2 separate regions of the Homo sapiens genome follow, and region 2 is linked to region 1. Evidence: promoter capture Hi-C in human tissues and cell types (Jung and others, 2019). All regions are on one chromosome and are shown on one strand. The core of a region is centred on a gene start or on the middle of the fragment in contact, and the rest is flanking DNA. Distances in the headings are between cores, read along the strand shown.

What was found. The method cuts DNA at HindIII sites, captures the fragments that hold promoters and counts their contacts. A contact is called where the count stands out against the background at its distance.
Region 2: a contact is called between a fragment that was not itself captured here and the fragment with the promoter of TTC17 in region 1, in 1 of the 25 tissues and cell types used here (dorsolateral prefrontal cortex).

What each region holds. Positions count from the first base shown.
Region 1 is chr11:43,354,611-43,360,296 of GRCh38, forward strand. It overlaps TTC17 (tetratricopeptide repeat domain 17), which reads left to right and starts at 4,310. Exons shown (of 24, transcript NM_018259.6): 1 at 4,310-4,503. The coding sequence starts at 4,345. RefSeq lists an enhancer at 4,169-4,438 and a silencer at 4,569-4,648. The HindIII fragment of the contact is 5,896 bases long and covers 3,643-5,686 here.
Region 2 is chr11:41,448,389-41,454,452 of GRCh38, forward strand. All of the region lies in intron 1 of LRRC4C (leucine rich repeat containing 4C), which reads right to left. Among named protein-coding and RNA genes, the nearest start is that of LRRC4C, 8.2 kb to the right of the region's middle. The HindIII fragment of the contact is 5,960 bases long and covers 1-4,808 here.

The DNA.
Region 1 (5,686 bases), core at 3,060-5,559:
ACGGTGACAAGTGATCTGGATGTAGAAAATTAGTAGGAACAATTTTATTTAAGTTTTTTGTTTTATTCACACAAAATGGGAATGCTACATTTGGGGGAGCTAAAAAACTGAGTCAACAAACTATTTTGCACAGAAGTTCCAAGGAAGATAAAAATGTTAGTATAGGAAATGCTTCCTGCCCTCAGTTGCTAGTGTAGGTAATTATAGAATTGCAAGATGACAGGTCCCTGGATGGCCTTGGCCATGCCAGCTCTTCCCCCTCTTGCTTGCAATTTTCAGGCAGAATGTACTGAGAATGCAACATCCTGAGATAAGGAGGAAGCTTCCAGAACAACCTGGGCTGCGTCCTCATTTTTCCTAAAACAGGATGTTCTGCAACACTTGTACTCAGCAATCTCAGTTACACCCAGGGTATAAAACCCAAAGTGTTTTTGGAGTCCCTCATCTGTGCTGCAACATGGGGTATGTGCAGATGAGGCTCCATCTGCCCTAAGCAGCTTTCCTGAGCCATGGGATCAGCTAACCATGGATCCTCCATTTCTGTGTATCTTTGCTGCCTATTTGTAAAAAATTTGCTTTGCCTGACTTACTGTTTGAGTGTTCTGCCTCACCAGATTAGAACTAAGAACTATTGCAAGAACCACTCAAGAGTTTGGCTGTTCAAAGTTTATAAAATAATATCACAAAGCAGCATAGTATTGTCATATTACTGACAGAATTCAGAGGTGGCAAACAAGTTGACAGACATTTTTGCAGGCTAGGATTTCAACTGTATCTTAAATAGATTTGAGAAAGCAGCATGAGGAAAGGATTTTAGGCAGGGAACAGGAGCAAAAGTATGTCTAAATTAGTCTGTGATACTTAAAACAGTTCAGTGAAAGACTAGAAGAATGGTACTTGGCAGTCAAGATCTGTGGTAGGCAAAATTCTAAGATGATACCCAATGGTCCTTGCCCGCATAAAATCTCCCCTACGTATATTAAAACATCATGTTGTACACTAAATATATACAATTTTGTCCATTTCACCTTAATAGAGTAGAAAAGGGGGAAATTTCCTAACTTGACTATGTGGGTAAAACATGAATACGATATCACTCCTGTGATCATAGGTTTGGATGTGGTTAGGGCCGCCAAAACTCATGTTGAAATTTGGTACCCAATGTGGCAGTGTTGGGAGATGGGGCCTAGTGGAAGGTTTCTGGGTCATGGGGGTGGATCTGTCATGAACAGATTAATGCCCTCACGGTGGTGGGGGGGGAGGTGAGTTCTTGCTCTCTCAGGAATGAATTAGTTCTCGAGTGTGGGTTGTTAAAAGAGTTTGGCTTTCTTGATTTGTCTCTCTTGCTGCTTCTCTCAACATGTGATCTCTATGCACACCCACTCCCCTTCTGCTTTCCTCCCTAAGTGGAAGCAGCGTGAGGCCCTTACCAGATGCGGCTGCCCAATCTTGGACTTTTCAGCCACCAGAATCATAAGCCAATTAAACCTCTTTTCTTTATGAATTGCCCAGCTTTAGGTATTCTGTTATAACAACACAAAATGGACTAAGATAATGTTATATGGCAAACGAAATTTTTGCAGATGGCATTAAAGTTACTAATCAGTTGAATAAAAAGGGATATTATTCAGATAGACCTTATCAACTCACATGAGCCCTTTAAGTCTAGGCTTAGAGATAGAGGAATTCAAGAGATTTCAGCAGTGGAAATATTCTGCTTGCCTTCAAGGAATAACTGCCATTGTGAGAGCCACATGGCAGAAAACTGTGGGTAGCCTCAATGTTAATGGCCACAATCAGCAGCCAGTAAGAAAATGGAGCCCTCAGTCCTACATTGGCAATAAATTGAATTCTGCCAAGGACTTGAAGAATGAGCTTGACTGAGGAACCCCAAGCCTCAGATGAGATTGCAGCCTTGATATGAGCCTTGTGACACTGAGCAGAGAACTCAGTCACACCACAGCAGAAGACTTTTGCCCCAAGGAAACTGTCAGATAATGTGTTAAGCTAAGTTTGTGGCAATTGTTACACAGCATTAGAAAACTAATACAGGATCCCAAAAGATAAGAGTTATCATCTACAGAAAATAGGTGGTATAATAAAGCTATAGAAGCTATAATTCCACCCCTTTAGAGGTTAACTTGTGAAGGTCAAAGAAATTGCTGATAGCAAAATATGTGATGCTGGGGCCTTTCTCAAATTCCTCACTAACATTCATTCATTCTCAGGCTCTCAGATCTAGAGTCAGGTGGATCTGAGTCCAAACCTGAGCTCTACCACTTAGCAATATGATCTTGGCCAACTTACTTAACTAGCCAGAGCTTGGTAAGTTGTGACGATTAATAGGAACTATGCATGTACAGGACCCAGTACGTATTAAACACTCAAGAAATGTTAGATGATGATGATGTCAGCTTTATACACAAGAAATAGGGTTGACCTCTATGCCCCAAAAATAAGATGCTGAGACAAAAGGGATTCCATCATTTGCCACTTCTCTATTTTAAAATTCTGAAACACTCCCTATTGCCTATGTCTAAACTCCAAGAAACTCTTAAAACATGCCACTGACTTCACCTTTTCGTTTCTTGAGACGGATTCTCGCTCTGTCACTTAGGCTGGAGTGCAGTGGTGTGATCTCGGCTCACTGCAATCCCCGCCTCCCGTGTTCAAGCAATTCTCTGCCTCAGCCTCCCAAGTAGCTGGAATTACAGGTGCCCGCCACCATGCCCGGCTGATTTTTGTATTTTTAGTAGAGGCGGGGTTTCACCATCTTGGCCAGGCCAGTCTTGAACTCCTGACCTCAGTGATCCATCCACCTCGGCCTCCCAAAGTGCTGGGATTACAGGCGTGAGCCACCGCGCCCGGCCAACTTCACCTTTTCACTTATTATTCTGCCTGAACCAGCACCTGAGCTCCAAACCTTTTTTTCACCTGGTTGGTTGCTCTCTCCTGTACATATGCATTCATACACCCCCATTATCCTGTATTTTAATTGTTAACCTGCCAATAATATCTCACTATATTGCACACTGCCCAATGGTTACATTTCCATACCCAGAGACTATCAGAGTACCAGGCAAAAAGCAAATAAGCCATATATTTTTAATGAAATGAATGTTCAGTCTTCAGGCCTTTAAGAAAAGCTGTTCCTGGAATGAAGAAAAAAAAAACACCAATGCTGTGGTTGTTTCTACATTTCTATAGCGTGGTGTTTAAACACTTAGCAACTGCTCTCCTGCATACACTTGTGTAGAGAAGTGGTTAAACAATATTCTCATCCTTCTTTTCCCAAGGAGAAAACCAAAAGCATACCAACCTTAAATAACACACACAGAGGGCAATCTTGAAAGACCTAAAATGACATATCTAGCAAGAAGCTGGCAGCCAAGCTTGACGCCTGCCTGCCTGCCTGTTGGTTCACTAGAAGAAAGTGGTTCTCAAACTTTAATATGTATACCAGTCACCTGAGGCTATTGTTAAAATGTAGTCTGATTCAGCAGGTTGCGGGGGAGAGGGAGAAGAGCCGAGAATGTGCAGGTCTAAAAAGCTCCCAGGTGATGCCAATGTTTCTGGTCTCCAGACCTAGACCTCTAGCTTAGACCTGTGCTGACCAGTACGTTAGCCACATGCGGGTATTAAGCCCCTGAAATATGACTAGATAAGCTGTCAGTGTAACATGCCGATTTCCAAGACTTAGTTAAAAAAAAAAAAACTAAACTATCTCAATGATTTGTACAGACCACATTGAATTAATATTTTGTGTACTTTGAGTTAAATAAAATGTACTAGTAGGGTTACTTCCCTCTATATTTTACATTCCACACGTGGCTCGCATTATAGTGCTACTGGACAGCGGTGCCCTAAACTAACAACCGTCTCCATTCTGAAGCTTCCACTATTGTGAGACTTTAAGAATAAAAGCAACACCTCTCTTCCCATAGGTGGTTCGAAAGCACACCTTTTGTTCCCCAACTATCTACCAGAAATAAAACGAAAAAACAAAGATTTAAAAAACAATAAAATTGAGTCCTTTCACTTCTGCTTAAGCGCCACCTAAGCCACTGCTTTTGTCTCCCTCCGGTTCCCACGCTCCGAGATCGTATCACCCACAGAAAAACAATAACTAAAAAGCGGTCTCCATCCCTGAAGCCAAGCTGGGAGAGTAGCCGAAGGTCGCGCTTCCTGGCCGCCAAAACCGAGGTGGAGGAAACTTGGTAGTCAGCGAGCTACGCCCTCTCGGCTCCTCCTCCTGCTCCTCCTCCAGGGCCGACCTCTTCAAGATGGCGGGCGCCGGAGACTAGCTTCCGCTTCCGGTGTGAGCGGCCCGGCCGGGGGGGCAAGATGGCGGCGGCAGTAGGGGTTCGTGGCCGGTACGAGCTGCCGCCTTGCTCCGGCCCAGGCTGGCTCCTCAGCCTTTCCGCCTTGCTGAGTGTGGCGGCACGAGGGGCCTTCGCCACCACGCACTGGGTCGTCACGGAGGACGGGAAAATCCAGCAGCAGGTAGCGGCCGGGGCGTCCCTCTTCTCCCGTGCCCGCCCTCGCCCCGGGGGGATTACCCTGCTTGGCCCCTGGCTGTTGGGCTCCGCGCGGCCCCGCCCCCAGCCTACCCTCACAGGGAGGTGGCACCGCGACCTCGGACTCCCTGCATTCGGACCAGGCAGGCACTTCCCGCTCCCCACTTGTCTCCTGGTCCTCGTTTGGCCCCCTAGAAGTTCTCACCCTTCCACCTCGCGGGCCGCGCGCCGCGTGGGGAAGAGTCGCCCAGCTGCGGGAGACGGGCCCTACGGACCTTTTTTTAGCTCGGGGTTTAGAAATCACAGATTTCAGGATTCCTGCCTTTGGTGCCTCTCGGGTTCACGCGTCACCGGCCCTCCCCGAGGAAATAGAAAGCAGGTGGCAGCTCCAGGGTGTGCGCGAGTCCCATGGTATGACAGCTTCTGGACCCCTAGCCTGTGGACCATTCGTGCTGCTCCCCTAGTCTCGTCTACCACATGGTGGATTTCGTTTCTGGTTGTGTTGGTTTCAGCTTGTACCGTTACTCAGGTCAGCAGTGGCTCATTAGAAACAACATAGAAACACTCCCCTTCAGAAGGAATGCTTGAAGATGCCGCTGGTGGCGTTGCCTGCATCTTTTCAGCTGTTACTGCCCTCGTTTCCCAGTGCACTTTGCTTTGTTTCTTTACCTAGTTCTTGTGACCCAGCCTCGCATGGAGGATATGCGATTTCCTGGATTCTTGTATGCCTGAACTAATTCCTCAGAGGCGAGACTGCTTTTCTTATATAACTTTATGATTGCCTGCGTTTTGTAAATGCTGCTGATGCCTAACGAGTGCGTGTGTGTGTTCCGCTACAGAATATTGGTAAACTTACTGACTTCGAACACTTGAGGACAATCTTGAAGTGTCTAGCAAACATTTAGAAAGTGAATTGTGTGCCCCATGCAATTTAGCCCACTGATCTAAAACGTTTTAACTAGTGTGGTGGGAAATTACTGGTCCTTTGGATTGTGTGTAATGAATCATGATAGGAACACATTCCAACGTTTAAGGTGAGGTTTAGATTTAGATTTGCCGTGTAATGTAATTGCAAATTCTATCTCAAGTAAGTTAAGTATAACTAAAAATCCGCCTAGGTATTCATGAGTGGTTTTCAGCATATCTAAGAAAAGACCGTGTTCCTATTG
Region 2 (6,064 bases), core at 579-3,078, 1.9 Mb before region 1:
TCCACCTCCCAGGTTCAAGCAGTTCTCCTGCCTCAGCCTCCTGAGTAGCCGGGATTACAGGCACCTGCCACCATGCCTGGCTAATTTTTGTAGTTTTGGTAGAGATGGGGTTTCACCATGTTTGCCAAGCTGGTCTCTAACTCCTGACCTCAGGTGATCCATGTGCCTCCGCCTCCCAAAGTGCTGTGATTACAGGCATGAGCCACTGCGCCCAGCTACATAGAGCTTTAAACTTTAAATCTTATTCTTATACATGCAAACACAGAAACCCTATGTATTCTCTTGTGAAGAAAGGTATTATACATATTTTTAAATGACTTAGAAGACAACATTTCACAGTATTTCTAAATATAGATATTTGATTTGTCCTGACATTTGCTATATAATTTTGGCCATTTATTTAACCATCTTTAAAATTTGTATAATACCTACTTCATAGTTGTTTTGGAGAAAAGATCAAATATTTTTATAATAAATGTAAACTTTTAAACACATAGTAAGTGCTGAATACAAGCTAGTTGTTATCATGATCTTGATTTGACAGATAAGAATATTGTACTTTTTAAAAGATACTTACATCTAATGACAGAGAAATGAGATAGTTGTCAAATATATAACCAGAGTTTGCAGATTGGGAAGATTTGAGTTAATTATGCAAAGGTAGTCTCTATTCTTCACTTCTAGCAAGGAAGCTGTGGAGTAGGGTAGCCAATATTGCAAGGCTGGAGCTAGCAGAAGCATTGCCTCTAATTTGAAGCCCTAGGCTACTTAAAACCGTGTAAGTGTACAGAACAGAGGCTAGAGCAAAGGATGTAGATTTGAAAAGGTTTGAAGACATCGTCAAAACAGAAAGTGGGCCTGGGGGCTTAGGCAGATGTTGGAAAAGTTGGAGCTAAATATGAAGTTGAAGTAAAAACCCAGGAAGAAGGAAGCAAGAAACCAAGAAACTCTAGCAGGCCATCAGGCGAGAGAATAATCTGAATAAATGTCAAAGATAGGAGGTGTTGCCTAATACTAGCTTGATTTTGTATCTTCTGTGGCTTCCACTGGGTAAGAAGGGTAGGAAAAAAGATGACATAAGGAGCAAAAAAAAATGTCCCTATATTCTGGCCCTGAAAATCACTAACTACTGTGAGGGGTGAGTAAAATAGATAGAAAGGCAGGTTTTTCTGGAACCATACCCAGGCCCAGACAGGAGAGCAAATTAGCTGTTTCTCTGTTTCTCAACCTCCTATCTCTGCTCTCATCAGGGAAGAAGATCAAGGTGTTATTCAAACAGGCACCTGGTAAGTGACTCTCTACTGGCCTCCCCCGACCCCTACCCAGGGATGATAGTAATGACCAAAGATTCAGTCTGAGCAGTTAGTTTCCTCTTGATGGAAAAAAAAAAAAAAAAAGCTTTTTCGCTTCTTTAAGTAGATGTGGTCAGAAGTAGAGCTGACTCTCTTCAAATAGTCTCCCTTTTGCCTTTCCTGGACCCTTATCTTGGATCCAGATTCTAAGCCAAGAAAAATAAACATCCTATGAAACTACCTGGCAAATTTCTAAATGTATTATTGTGAAACTGTCATCCCTCTAGCTTGAGAGAAATAGAAACTGGCTTCTACTCAAAGCAGACAAACTGTCTCTCTCATCTCTGAAAACTAAAAATCTAAAAAGAAAAAATTAGGCTGAATACTAGAAGGTCAGAGAGTGGCCTTTTTGTCAACTCTTCATGGTTGTGTTAAGTGCCATTCCATTCTGAGCTGGCAGTTCTTAGACATGTTTCCCTCTAGAACATAACACTAGAGATGCTTGGACCATCTGTCTGTCCGACAGACCATCTGTACAAGGCACTGGCACCCCTTCCAGAAAATAGAAGAGAAACTGAGGACACTAAATAGGTGAGTCTCTGTGTCTCTGTTTTCTAAGCTCTCTGGCAATAATTGGTAAAAGAGAAAAAGGAGTCCAGGAAAATTGTTTACATTTAAAAAAATGTTATAGCAAAGGTGGAAAATATTTTCATACAAGCAACCACAGAAATATTTAAAAGGTAATAGAAAAAAGTAACTGTTTCTGGCTTTAAGTGTTAGGCAAGCTAATGCACAAACTGAGAGGAATAAAGGCACCAGGGCTTTGTAGACAGACGCAACTAGGCAGACATTCAGGTAGACACTGCTTTTAATGAGTTTTTATCTTGGGCAAATCACAAGTTGTCTATGGCTCAGTTTCCTCATCTGTATCCTGAGAATAATGATGCCCCCTGTATGCAACTATAAAGTTTTTAATATATCATCTGAAATACCATAGAATTAAATGTGTGACAGCTATTGTGTCAATTTTGTGGGTTTTTACAAGGCTCTCTACGGGGCTCCAACCTATATCTTCATTCCTTCCTACCAAATACTTTTTGATGTATTTCCTTACTCTATTAGCACTGATATATGCAAAGTTATAATTTCTTCTAATTTCTCCTCGGAAACATTATCACTGCTTCACAATATACATATTTAAGACAAACCTCAAATTCCCCTTCCTTCTTTAATCTTTCCCAACCACAAATTCCTCAGGGATAACTCTCTTCTCTGAGTTTTACGTGCTGACTTTATTATTTTTTGGTTCTGAATCCTGTGCTGCCTTGTTTAGCAAGTTAATTGCTCCTCTGTCAATATAATGTCAACAATAATATAGGAACACATTTGAGGGAAAAATCGGATTGTTTACAACTTTGTGCTCCACATCATAACTGTGATAGAACAGTGAGTCTAGTAGGTGTTTAATAAACAAATTTTGAATAAATGACACCATCGAAATGACTACAGAAGCAAAAGAATGTACTGTTACCCACAAGAACATTCATTGAGAATTCTGACTGACTTATGCAAAAGTGTTCTTGACCTAAATCCATGACATCGTTCTGAGGTTCAGGAATAGGAATAGGGTTATTTTAAAAACTAAACACCCCCACCCACATAGACATACATAGATATAGATATAGATATAGATTTTGTGTGTGTGTGTGTGTATGTGTATTTATGTATATGGTGCTGGACAAATTAGTCTTGGAGAAAAATATGTATTAGATAGGAAGAACAGAATTCCATTTAGCAAAAGCTTAAAAAAAATGCAGCAGTGCTTATAGTGATGGAAGAGATGAAAATCAAACTTGAAGCAGCACAAACACATCCAGGAGAGTCATGGCAGTGAGGCATGACAGGTCAAGGATAAAGAAAGGGAAAACAGGAAATAGCATCAACCAGATGAACACAGGAAGAAGTTAGGTATTCATGAGCAAAACAGACCTATTTCATGAAAGTGCTGGCAGCCAGGGGAACACTCAGAAAAATTTTAAACTATTTTTATATCTGCTCTTACTTGGGCACTGGAATCAGAACAGGTTGACTGATAATATGTTTAATGCTTAATAGTAGTCCAGGTACCTTGGTAGAGAAAATGACCCTGAGCAAAAGTCACATATAAACATGGCTTTCCTTTTGAAGAAGGGAGAGTAGAGTTTTTTCCTTGTATGTATCTGTATTCAGACTGCTGTCACTATGCATGGTGGATGTCTCCAACAGCAAAAAATTAGCAAACCCATCCACTGTCTGTGTTATTAATCATTTGCTTGTTTTCAGGAAAGAGTATGCCTTTATTAGATTGATTTTTTCCTAAATGTTTTCACTTCACACATATTTTTTACTATGTTATTCAAACATTTGTCTCAACTTATATGGATTATTTTCTTTACTTCTTCCATTTGGAGTATCTACTGGGGTCAAGGTATATATGGTCACAGGTTTTAATTCCAATCATATGGTTGAAAAAATGTACACCCTGCACCATTGTGTGCTTACTTGGCCTTTGTTTCTGTGACTTGTTACCTAAAGCATGAATGTATAAATTGAAAGGACTTACACAAGGAATTGAAATCTCTCATCTTTAAGTAACTTATTATCAAATATTCAACATGCTAATGTGTTTGCTCAATAGATATGTAAAGGAACAGCTAGAACATCAAAAACAGATAAAATATAATTGAATATCTACATTATGTAAAAAAGCTAGAGGATTTTTACAGGGATTAGAGAAAAGTTGGTGTTAAAATTTTCTTTGTTCCTTGACAGTTTTAAGTGGAAGAAAGATTGCTATTTCCTCTCTTTTTCAAGAAAGCTTTCATAATATGACCTTTTCTCTTGTTTACAGCCAAGCAATGAGTTTAATGGCTCACATTTTAGAACCTGACTTTAGAAAGAATTCCCCAGTTTATGAAATTCTGAATTCGTTCTCTTTCTTTCTCTGGTCTCCTTGAATGTTCTGTACCAGTCACTCTTTTTCCATCATGTCCCCCACTGACATCAATATGTTGAAAGATAATTTCCCTCCTCTGTTTTATATTTTTATAAGTAGACAAACAAGAATATTTGCTTCTCTGTTTATTCATGTGCTGGTAATAATTTGTATCGTCTCTGGCACTGCAGAGTACAACAACATTTATACAAACTGAAACTGCTAAGTTATTATCATAATTACTATTACTACTAATGATTATAAGTAAATTTAATTATTATAATAATGAGATACCTTTTACTGAGTACCAATTAAATTCTAATCTCTGTTCTAGATACTTTGTGGGCATTATTTTTCTTAATCTTTTTACAACACTACAAGGTAAGATATGGAAATACAGCTACAAAAGTAACCTTCCCAAAGGTATGTTACTAATGAGACATAACATATTGGGACATGCTACCCATAAAGTAAATTCTGCAAATGCTCCTTAATGTCACTTAAGATTTAGTGTTACAGAGAAGACTTTCATTTCTTTACTTTCCTCTGTGTCCTGTAACTGCAGTACAATCATGCACATGGCATCAGACATTTTAATAAGATTTAAGTAACTGTCAAAGTTAAATAGAGATCTGCCTCAACTTATGGATTCTGCCAAAGACCACAAAAATATGGTACTGATCATGTACTATATTAGGGACCCATTGGTTCAGAGAAGCACCTTTCAGAGGCCCCTTAGAGATACTAACATCACATCTTTCCACTGATAGAGTCGGCCCTATTATGGGAATGTGATTACTTGATTTGCATTTACAGAAGGCTTGCTCTGGACTGTCTATAATTATGTGAAGAAGCATTGGGTTCACATCCTACAAATAAAAGAAACCATGGCATAAAAGAACAGACATGGGCTTTGGAGTGAGTCAGAATTTGGGGCAAATAAATCCTTTGTTTGCCTTATCTGTAGTATGGGAATAATAATGTTACCTTGCTTATTTTGTGTGTATGTGTGTGTGTGTGTGTATGTGTGTTTGTATGTGAGAAGTATAAATAATCTAACATACCTAGCACAGTGCCTGGCACATAGAATACCTTTGCTGACTCTATGAGATAATTGATTATAACATTATATTTTCTTGGTGTGTGTTGGTAATATATTTTGCAGTATATCACAAAAGGAATTTCCTTAGTTCAATGCAAAGCTTCAACCACAAATTCTGATGCTTAAGGCTGTGGTAGAGGCCAATGAACTTGTGTTTGCTGTTTTGACCAATTGACATCCCTCTTTCCTTTCTAACTCTCCTAGAATCAAATTTTATGGCATGAAGCTTTAAAATGCAGGGAGCATGGATCTTGTCTTTCTTCTCACAAAGTCATAAAGCAGACTTCATCCATTCATTTTAAGGATAAAAAGAACCCACAACCTGAAGGACAAAACCCTGTTCTCTCCATGCACAGGGAAAGGCTGACTTTGCAGTACCGAAATACCTGGGTCAAGTGGTACCAGCCGTGCAGTTAGCAAAGCAGAATTGGACTCATCACTGACAGCTCAGCTCAGCTACATTAGTAAGAACAAGGCTTTTTACATCTTTTCTGATATGTTCTTGAACAAAATAAAGGTCACACAGAATGACACAGCCCCACATAGGTCAGATTCTGGCAGAGGAATCTTAATTCTTGTTAACTATCAAGTCAAAATTCCAAGGGGCCGCCTTTAAGACTGCAGCATTCCCTGTCCAAATACAGGAATTGCAGCAAATAGCTATGAGCAGAGAATCCTTCTAATACTCCCCACAGC